2 separate regions of the Homo sapiens genome follow, and region 2 is linked to region 1. The links are contacts of gene promoters, found by promoter capture Hi-C in blood cells and fetal thymus (Javierre and others, 2016). All regions are on one chromosome and are shown on one strand. Each heading gives the region's core, a stretch centred on a gene start or on the middle of the fragment in contact. The rest is flanking DNA. Distances are from core to core; before and after follow the strand shown.

Region 1 (4,180 bases), core at 642-3,141:
AGTTCAAAGGCCTGAGTTTGGGTCCCAGCTCTGGCACTTTCTAATGGTTTTACTTACCTCTCTGTTCCATAGTTCTCTGTTCCCTAAAATCAAGGCAAAAAAGGATACCTGCTTCACGCCCTATTATGAGAATTCTATGGGTCAATTCACACTTGGCATATAGTAAGCACTAAATATTACCTGCTATTATTATGCAAAGAAAAAAAGTCTCTCTACAACTAAAGAAATGAACTGGTTTACATATTTCCCCCAGACATATTTATTCTTTTTCTTCCCTTCATGCACAATCCTAAATTATTCCACTTTTGTAAAAAAAAAAAGTGCACTTTTCTCACCCAACATATGGGGAGGGGGGAATAATATTTATCTTCCCTCTATCACAAGTTGTGAGCATCAAATAAGCCAACTTCTGTGAAGGAGCTTAACAAGCCATAAAGCACTTTGAAACTATAAGATGTGCTTTCTTCAGAGATGGGGTCGCTCTCTGTCACCCAGGCTGTAGTGCAATGGTGTGCTCATAGCTCACTGCAGCCTCAAATTCCTGGGCTCAAGTGATCCTCCCACCTCAGACTACTGCCATTTTAGTCAAATGTCAGATGCCTGATGAAAGGTGCAAACCACGGTGCCTGTCTAAAATGCTAATATTAATGTAGCTGCTCAAATTGAAGGGGAGGATTCTACAACTAAATACAGAGTATATAAAATAAATTAAGAAAAACTGGGGCTGGGAGCAGTGGCTCACGCCTATAATCCCAGAACTTTGGGAGGCCGAAGCGGGCAGATCATGAGGTCAGGAGATTGAGACCATCCTGGCTAACACAGAGAAACCCTGTCTCTACTAAAAATACAGAAAATTATCCGGGCGTGGTGGCGGGCACCTGTAGTCCCAGCTACTTGGGAGGCTGAGGCGGGAGAATGGTGTGAACCCGGGAGGCAGAGCTTGCAGTGAGCTGAGATCGCACCACTGCATTCCAGCCTGGGCGACAGAGTGAGACTCCGTCTCAAAAAAAGCTTAGCATTCTTGGGAATTGTCATGCATGATTTTAGGGTTTATTTCTTAAATTAGCATAATATAGCAGAATTATAAATAAATGCAATGCTTTACACACATGCAATAAATTGTTTGCAAAACTCAGAATAGATATTTTAACTTTATAGACTGTAAAAACATGAGCATCAAGCTTTTTCAGGAAAAAAATTCTGCATACTACTCTTCTTTAGAATTAAATTCATTGCGAATTCTAGTTGCTAAAATATGTCATTGTTTTTTCACTATGTACATATTCTTAATGAAATGCAACTCTTCTTCAAAATGATGGAACAAATACGCAATTTAGAAGCAGACCTGTAAATAAATCACACTGATAAAACAGTCCACAGACAGCAGTGGGCTCTAATAGAAGCCATTTAGATGGTATTTCAGGCTTTCTCAGTGAGTCATTATCTTACTCAGAACAAGTTACTCAACTTGAGATGACTCACTTTGTACAAAAAGACAACAATAATATCACATATAATCACATTAGCCCGGCATTTTGAAATCTTTAAAAACACCGTAAACACACGACGCTATGACCTTGGTTGGTAAGAATATGGTCATTTTAGTTACTGACTTGCACTTATTGATCTCCTGAAGTTATACATACACTACTAAGTTTCTGCTAAGTGTACTCATTTTGAAATATTTCATTTATTTGCAAGTAACATGGGATTTTAAAGAAATCACGTCAGGCTGCAATTTCACGTTTCAAATAAACAGAGCAACAAGTATAACTTTTTTGACAAGTTGCAGTGTAATTTTTATTTTTTATTATTATACTTTAAGTTCTGAGATACATGTGCAGAACGTGCAGATTTGTAACATAGGCATACACGTGCCATGGTGGTTTGCTGCACCCATCAACCCATCATCTACATTAGGTATTTCTCCTTAATGTTATCCCTCCCCTAGTCCCTCACTCCCCGACAGGCCCCGGTGTGTGATGCTCCCCTCCCTGTGTCCACATGTTCTCATTGTTCAACTTCCATTTATGAGTGAGAACATGTGGTGTTTGGTTTTCTCCGCTGGCTTATTTATGTATACAAGTGGGGCATCACATATGCATTTATTTGTGTATTCATTCTGTAGCTGTAATAGGTTCATTGCCTGGATGTTCACAGCAAGTCAATACCCAGAGGCACCAGGTTGCAACAGAGACAGAGGTTTAATGGTAAGGCCAACAAATGAGGAGAAAAGAGAAAACCCCAAATCCATCTTCCCGGGGACTCTGGGGCGAGGGTTTTTAAGAGTTTTGGAGTGAGCCAAAGCATAGAGATTGTTGATTAGTTGAAGAGTACAGGGTGAAGTCCCAGGACAGGGAGAGAAAGAAACTGTACTCTCATGCTCATTTGGTTTGTCTGTGGGAGTCTTTAAATTGGTTGGCGTTAGCAGTTCCACAGTAATTCAGGATCCGTTTAAGCAATTCTTAAACAAAAGCCTCATGGTTCTAACATTAGAATTTCTATCTACAGGAACAATGGGGATGCAAATGGTCAGAATCTAAGGTTATGTGATGTTTAGTTACAAGGAAGTGGGTCAAAGTGCAGCCTGGTTAAAGCTTAATTATAACTACATTTCTGCCCAGAATTCTTAATTCTGTGAGGATGGCTTCAATTCCTTCAACAAGCTTTTATTTAGCACCAACTATATGTAAGACTCTACATAGTCTATTGAAAATAACCTCAGTTTTTATGATCTAAAGGCAAATACATGATAAAGTTTCATACAGTTTTTACATTGTATATTACAATTTACATTGGATAAAAAGTACCTCCCAAGGTGCTTTACGGTGTTTTCACTGGATACCCATTTTAAACAGCCTTATGTGCTGATTCTGGATGATAATTTTAATGTTAAACTTCCCTAGCCTATCTAATATATGACTGAGTAGGCTGACAAATAATAAAATAAATGTTTATCATTTAAAAAATACAAATATATATAATCAGCATCCAATAGAGATAATCCTGGAACAAAAATTAGTACTACAGAATTAGATCCAGGCTAATCAGAATCCAGCAGTGGTGTTATAGGAAAGCACAACAATGAAGTCCTTCTCAGTGTTATTACTCAGAGGCTAGGGGTAAGAAAAAGTCCTTCAGGTGATGTGAAGTTAGGAGAATTTTACTCAGTTCCCCTGTGTGACTATGGAAGGTGTTTTTACAGCTTGCAGAGCTGAAGGAGATAGAACTGAACGCTGGCCAGTGGGAAGACAAGAACTGCTCAAGGGAAAGGAAGGTCTCAGTAGGGAGGAGAACCTGATGAAAGTTTTAGTCATCATTATCATGATTATCTGTCACCTCCAGGGTACACAGGTAACAGTTGCATTAAAGAGGAGATCATTTCTGAGGAGCTAAAGGACAATATAATATTATAACACCAAAGACACAAAGCTGAAGTAGCAGGTTACACAATTATTTGCCAATTTGTCCACAGGGAGACTTTTTAGCTGCACTTTCCAAAGCATTGGCACTCTGAAAACTTAATCATATAAAACTACATTCCCAACATGTAGAATATGTATCATAAAACACTTGCTATACACATATATCCAAACATCTTATGTCCTTATGATAATTTATCTCTGAACTAAAAATCTATTTAGGATCACTATGGATCATTTAAATTATGTTTCATTTTGTCAGAAAAAAAAATCAAATAATAAAGCATTATTTTAACTGGCTTTTACCTTTCAGTTAAATTGAACTTTAACTAAACAATCAAAGAAAAATTATTCCTCTATCAATGTTGATCTAAAAATCTTTCAATTGTAGCTTTTTAACTAGGTCAAGCTCCAAGTCTCCTGACCCTAGATTTATTTATTCATTCATTCAACAGATACCTATACATATCCTGGCCATATCTGGTATTTTGCCTCCTCATCCAAGCCACTATTTATGTCTCTCTCCTGGCTGACCACACAGCTTCCACCTGTACCCACCTCTCTTCCACTCTTTCCACCAGAGCTGGGGGGATCATTTTGAAAAAGCTGATCCAGTCACTCCATTGCTTAAAGGCCTTCAAAGGCTTCCTATTGTCCTTGGAATAAAGACCAAAACCCAGCAAGGTATGGCCTGGCCTGGCCCCCTCTACCCTCTTTCAAATCGTGTGCCCTCTCTCCCCCTCTATCTTCTCCAAACC
Region 2 (4,180 bases), core at 503-3,002, 830 kb before region 1:
AAGAGCTACCTTTTTTGAACACTCAGTGCCTTCCAAGGTTCTGAATTAGTGTGAGAATGAGACTCATCAGGTATCTGAAATCTCTTCAATTATATCAAGAGCTGATCATGTAACAGTATTTTAGTATTAATACTCAGGAAATTCATTTTTAAAAACTCATGTCCTTACAAATACAGGAACAACCCAGCATTTGGCTTATTTTACAATGCATCTATATGCTATTCAAATTTGCATCTGTGAAGTAGATCCACAGAAACAGTAAACCAAAGGTAGACAAGTCCCTTCTGCTTTTTCCTATAAAACAGAAATAAGTCTATGTACTTTAAAACCCAACTGAGGTTTTGCTCAGCCTTACAAAGCCAACTTTTATGTCCCCAGCAGAAGCTAACAGACAGGATCTGAGATTTGCCAGCAGAGAGGCACAAATCAAGTAGTGACTGAACTCACCTCTACGAGGAACTGGCATATGTTCTTGCGTTGGTCACCCTGTAGCTGAATTACTTCTCCATATTCCGGATGCTCAATTACAGTACCATTGCAGGCAAACTTCTGCAAGCACAAAGGAAAACGAATTAGGCCTAGCAAGAGCATGAACGCATTTATCACCCCTTCCGCTAACAATACATACAACACAGCTGGCACCCCCTTGTGGACAAATCCATTATGACTTTCCCAAAATCTCACTGAAGACCTACTTTCTTAAACGCCTTCACTAGTTTCTTTTTATCGTAATCATCAGCGATCCCTTGGACAGTAGTAAGGGTCTTCCTGCCGTTTCTCTGTTGAATTCTTATATGGATATAATCCTCAGTGCCAGCAGGAAGCAGGTCATCACCCTTACTTGCATCAGCAAAGGGGTCTGAAAAAAAAGGTTAAGCTCGTTCAGAGCTGTCAAAGATAGGATGCCACTGCCATCCCCTCGGTCCCCAGGTGTTTTGCGCGTGCAGAAAACAACACTGAAATCGTCAGGGCTTGGGCCAGGCCGAATGTGTCCTTTGCTGGCTCTCCCCGAGCAGGTCAGTCCGGGACGGCCAGCTTCCCCAGGCTCGGGGAACGCCCGGGCCTCCCGCCCTCCCTGGGAAGCCGATCACATGTCGGGGGAGTCCGGGCTGCCAGGCGGTGCCCCACCCAGCTGATGCAACCCGCCGGAACCCGAGCTCCCGAGGCGGGGCTAAGCCTCCCACCCCCATTGGTGCACCCGCTTGCCACTTAGGGCTGGCACCGCCTTTCCCTCCGGATCCGTGACAACGGGTGGTGACGTAACGGACGTGACGCAATGGTGACGGGAGGGGCGGGTGTGGCCCGAGGAGGCCCAGGAGCCATTAGTAAATGCGCCACTGAGACGCCGGGCCCGCCCAAGGGCTGACCTACCGCCTGCTCCTTCCGGTCGCGCTCAGGGTCCGACCCCGGGGCCCAGGCCTTGATCCCGCTGCCCTGCGACCCTGGTCAAGTTTCCCCTGCCCGAGCTTACGAAGGCCCGGAGCGCTTGGCAACTTCCCGGAACACGTCTCCGGGCCCGGAAGGCCCCGCTGCCCCACCCGGGCCCGCGACCTTTCCCATAGCTTACCGAAAGAGTGGAGGTTCTGGATAGCGGACATACGATACGATTCCTTTTCCTCGGTGGAAACGGCCTGCGGAAGGCGGCGGCGGCGGTGGCGGGAGAAGGCGGGCAGGGGGGAACGGAACGTCGGGAAGCGAGGGGGCTCAAGGGGGAGGCTGCTGAATCCTCGGCGGCGGCTCAGTGACTGGGGCAGAGGGGCGGTGCCTGTGTTTAGTTATATAGCCGCGCCTCTGACGCCAGCGCGCTGCCCTCACGTCCTGACCCCACCCACAGCGTCGTGCCCCAAGCGCCCAGGCGGCGCCGCTTCCAATTGGTTTGGAGGCGGGGACATGGGATGGCGCTTGCGCAGGAAGTCTGCGGCAGGAGGGCGTCCTCTTGACTCTAGGAGAGCTGGGAGGGGGAGGGAAAGCTTGATCTGTCTCGGAGCCTGCGCAGTGCGAGTGGACGGTGTCTGGGTGCCGAGAATACCGGCCCAGGTTTCGAGCGCGCCTACGCACTGTGTCCTTTGGTACGTTCCACCTTCTTGACCCTGTTGCATCCCTGTCTTCTCGAAAAGGGGAGTTTCATATGGTAAATGAACACTCCTTAGAGAGGATTTAGATGATGAGCCTCCCAAACACGAGAAATCCCCGTTGTGTCAAACCCACCTACCTACCCACCCTACTACCCACGGAGTCACAGCGGGATTTAGGGCGGCACTTTGATTAATCAACATACAATAATATAATCAAAACGGTAACCGCATAATTTAGATTGCCATTTAGATTTATTCTAAAGTGGGTTAATCCGATCTAAAATTTTCATTTAGATTAGATTAATCCATCTAAGGAAAAAGTGTGCCCAGCTCATTGGCATGAGTTCAAGGTATAGTAACTGGTTCTGGGCCCCCCCGAGAATAATTCTGGCACCAGAGGGCGTCCTTCATGTGGCACAGCTTGTGTGGAGTAGAGCCTTCCTAGAGTTTAGATGAAATATTTCCTTCAAAACAGTCAACCTTTCTTGCTTTCAGTTTATTTATTTCAACACTCAGTTGTAGGGGTAAGTAGAGTGGTGAAAAGAGACCAGGAATTTTAGACTCAAAGGCCTCCGGGGATAGGCAGGTAAGTAGGATCAAGGAGTGCAAACAGCCAAGTGTGATGTAATGGGGTGGACTGGGGGCTGGAGTAAGAACTACGGGCTGCAGTGGCCGCTCACCTCCAGCCCATTGTGCTAGATCTTTTTCAAGAGTGCCAGGAAATCCAGGTGTTTACATAAAATCTCTTGATTTTTAAATATTGCCAATAAATTGATTTTTTTTTTGAGACAGAGTCTCACTTTGTCGCCGAGGCTGGAGTGCAGTGGCACTGTGTCGGCTCACTGTAACCTCCGTCTCCTGGGTTCAAGCAATTCTTCTGCCTCAGCCTCCCGAGTAGTTGGGGTTACAGGCATCCACCACCACGCCCGGCTAGTTTTTTAAAAATATTTTTAGTAGAGATGGGTTTTCACCATGTTGGCCAGGCTGGTCTTGAACTCCTGACCTCAGGTGATCTGCCTGCCTCGGCCTTCCAAAGTGCTGGGATTACAGGAATAAATTGAATTTTTGATACAACACTGCAAGCCAAACAAAAATATGCATGCCCATGGACTGCTGGTTTATGTCCCTGACAGTCAGGGTCACTGCCCTTGTGGAGTTGAAGGCCAGCGGGAGAGAGAGCCACTAAACAAATAATAAGATAATGAGGCTGGGCGCTGTGGCTTATGCCTGTAATCCCAGCACTTTGGGAGGCTGAGGTGGGCGGATCACCCGAGGTCAGGAGTTCGAGACCAGCCTGGCCAATATGGTGAAACCCTGTCTCTACTAAAAATACAAAAATTAGCTGGGCGTGGTGGCGTGTGCCTGTAGTCCCAGCTACTCGGGAGGCCGAGGCACAATAATTATTTGAACCCGGGAAGAGGAGACTGCAGTGAGCCAAGATGGCGCCATTGCACTCCAGCCTGGGCGACAGAGCAAGACTATGTCTCAAAAAAAAAAAAAAAAGGATAATGACAGATTGTGAGAGGTGCCAAAAAGGAGGTAAACAGGGTGATGTGAAAGGGCCAGGCTCCTTCAGATGGGGTGGTCAGAGAAGGCCTCTGGGGAGGCAGCATTCTGGCTGACAGAGGGTAGGAAGGAGTCCACTGTGGGGCAGGGCATGTGCCCACCAGAAAACTCAGAAAAACTCTGAGGGAGGAAATGCTAGGTGTACCTGATATATATATGTGTATGTGTGTGTATATATATATATATGTATATGAGTGTGTGTATATATGTGTGTGTGTGTATTTGTGTATATATGTATATATATATGTATGTGTATATATATATATATATAGACAAGGTCTCACTCTGTCACCCAGACTGGCTGGAATGCAGTGGCATGATCATGGCTTACTGCAGCCTCAACTGCTTAAAGCAGTCCCCCTGCCTTGGCCTCCTAAAGTGCTGGGATTACAGGCAGGAGCCAGTGTGCCTGGCCTGATACTTTGTTTTGATTCTATATTTACTAAATAAACTTGATTAATAGTTTGGTTTCCTTGACATCAGGAAGGAGGAACCATGGCTAGGTCATGGGCATCCCAGTCTCATGGTCTTCCCCTTTT

What was found. Contacts are between HindIII fragments. The CHiCAGO score rates a contact against its expected background, and 5 or more counts as called.
Region 2: a contact is called between the fragment with the promoter of EIF1 here and a fragment that was not itself captured in region 1, in 3 of 17 cell types (total CD4 T cells, non-activated CD4 T cells and naive CD4 T cells). The highest score is 5.5, in total CD4 T cells.

What each region holds. Positions count from the first base shown.
Region 1 is chr17:40,851,685-40,855,864 of GRCh38, reverse strand. All of the region lies in intron 1 of LOC105371777 (a long non-coding RNA gene), which reads right to left. Among named protein-coding and RNA genes, the nearest start is that of KRT12, 13 kb to the left of the region's middle. The HindIII fragment of the contact is 1,416 bases long and covers 1,184-2,599 here.
Region 2 is chr17:41,686,457-41,690,636 of GRCh38, reverse strand. It overlaps EIF1 (eukaryotic translation initiation factor 1), which reads right to left and starts at 1,752. Exons shown (of 4, transcript NM_005801.4): 1 at 1,568-1,752; 2 at 696-859; 3 at 448-549. The coding sequence starts at 1,598. RefSeq lists enhancers at 234-1,142, 1,068-1,157, 1,143-2,051 and a silencer at 1,538-1,927. The HindIII fragment of the contact is 2,180 bases long and covers 1-1,972 here.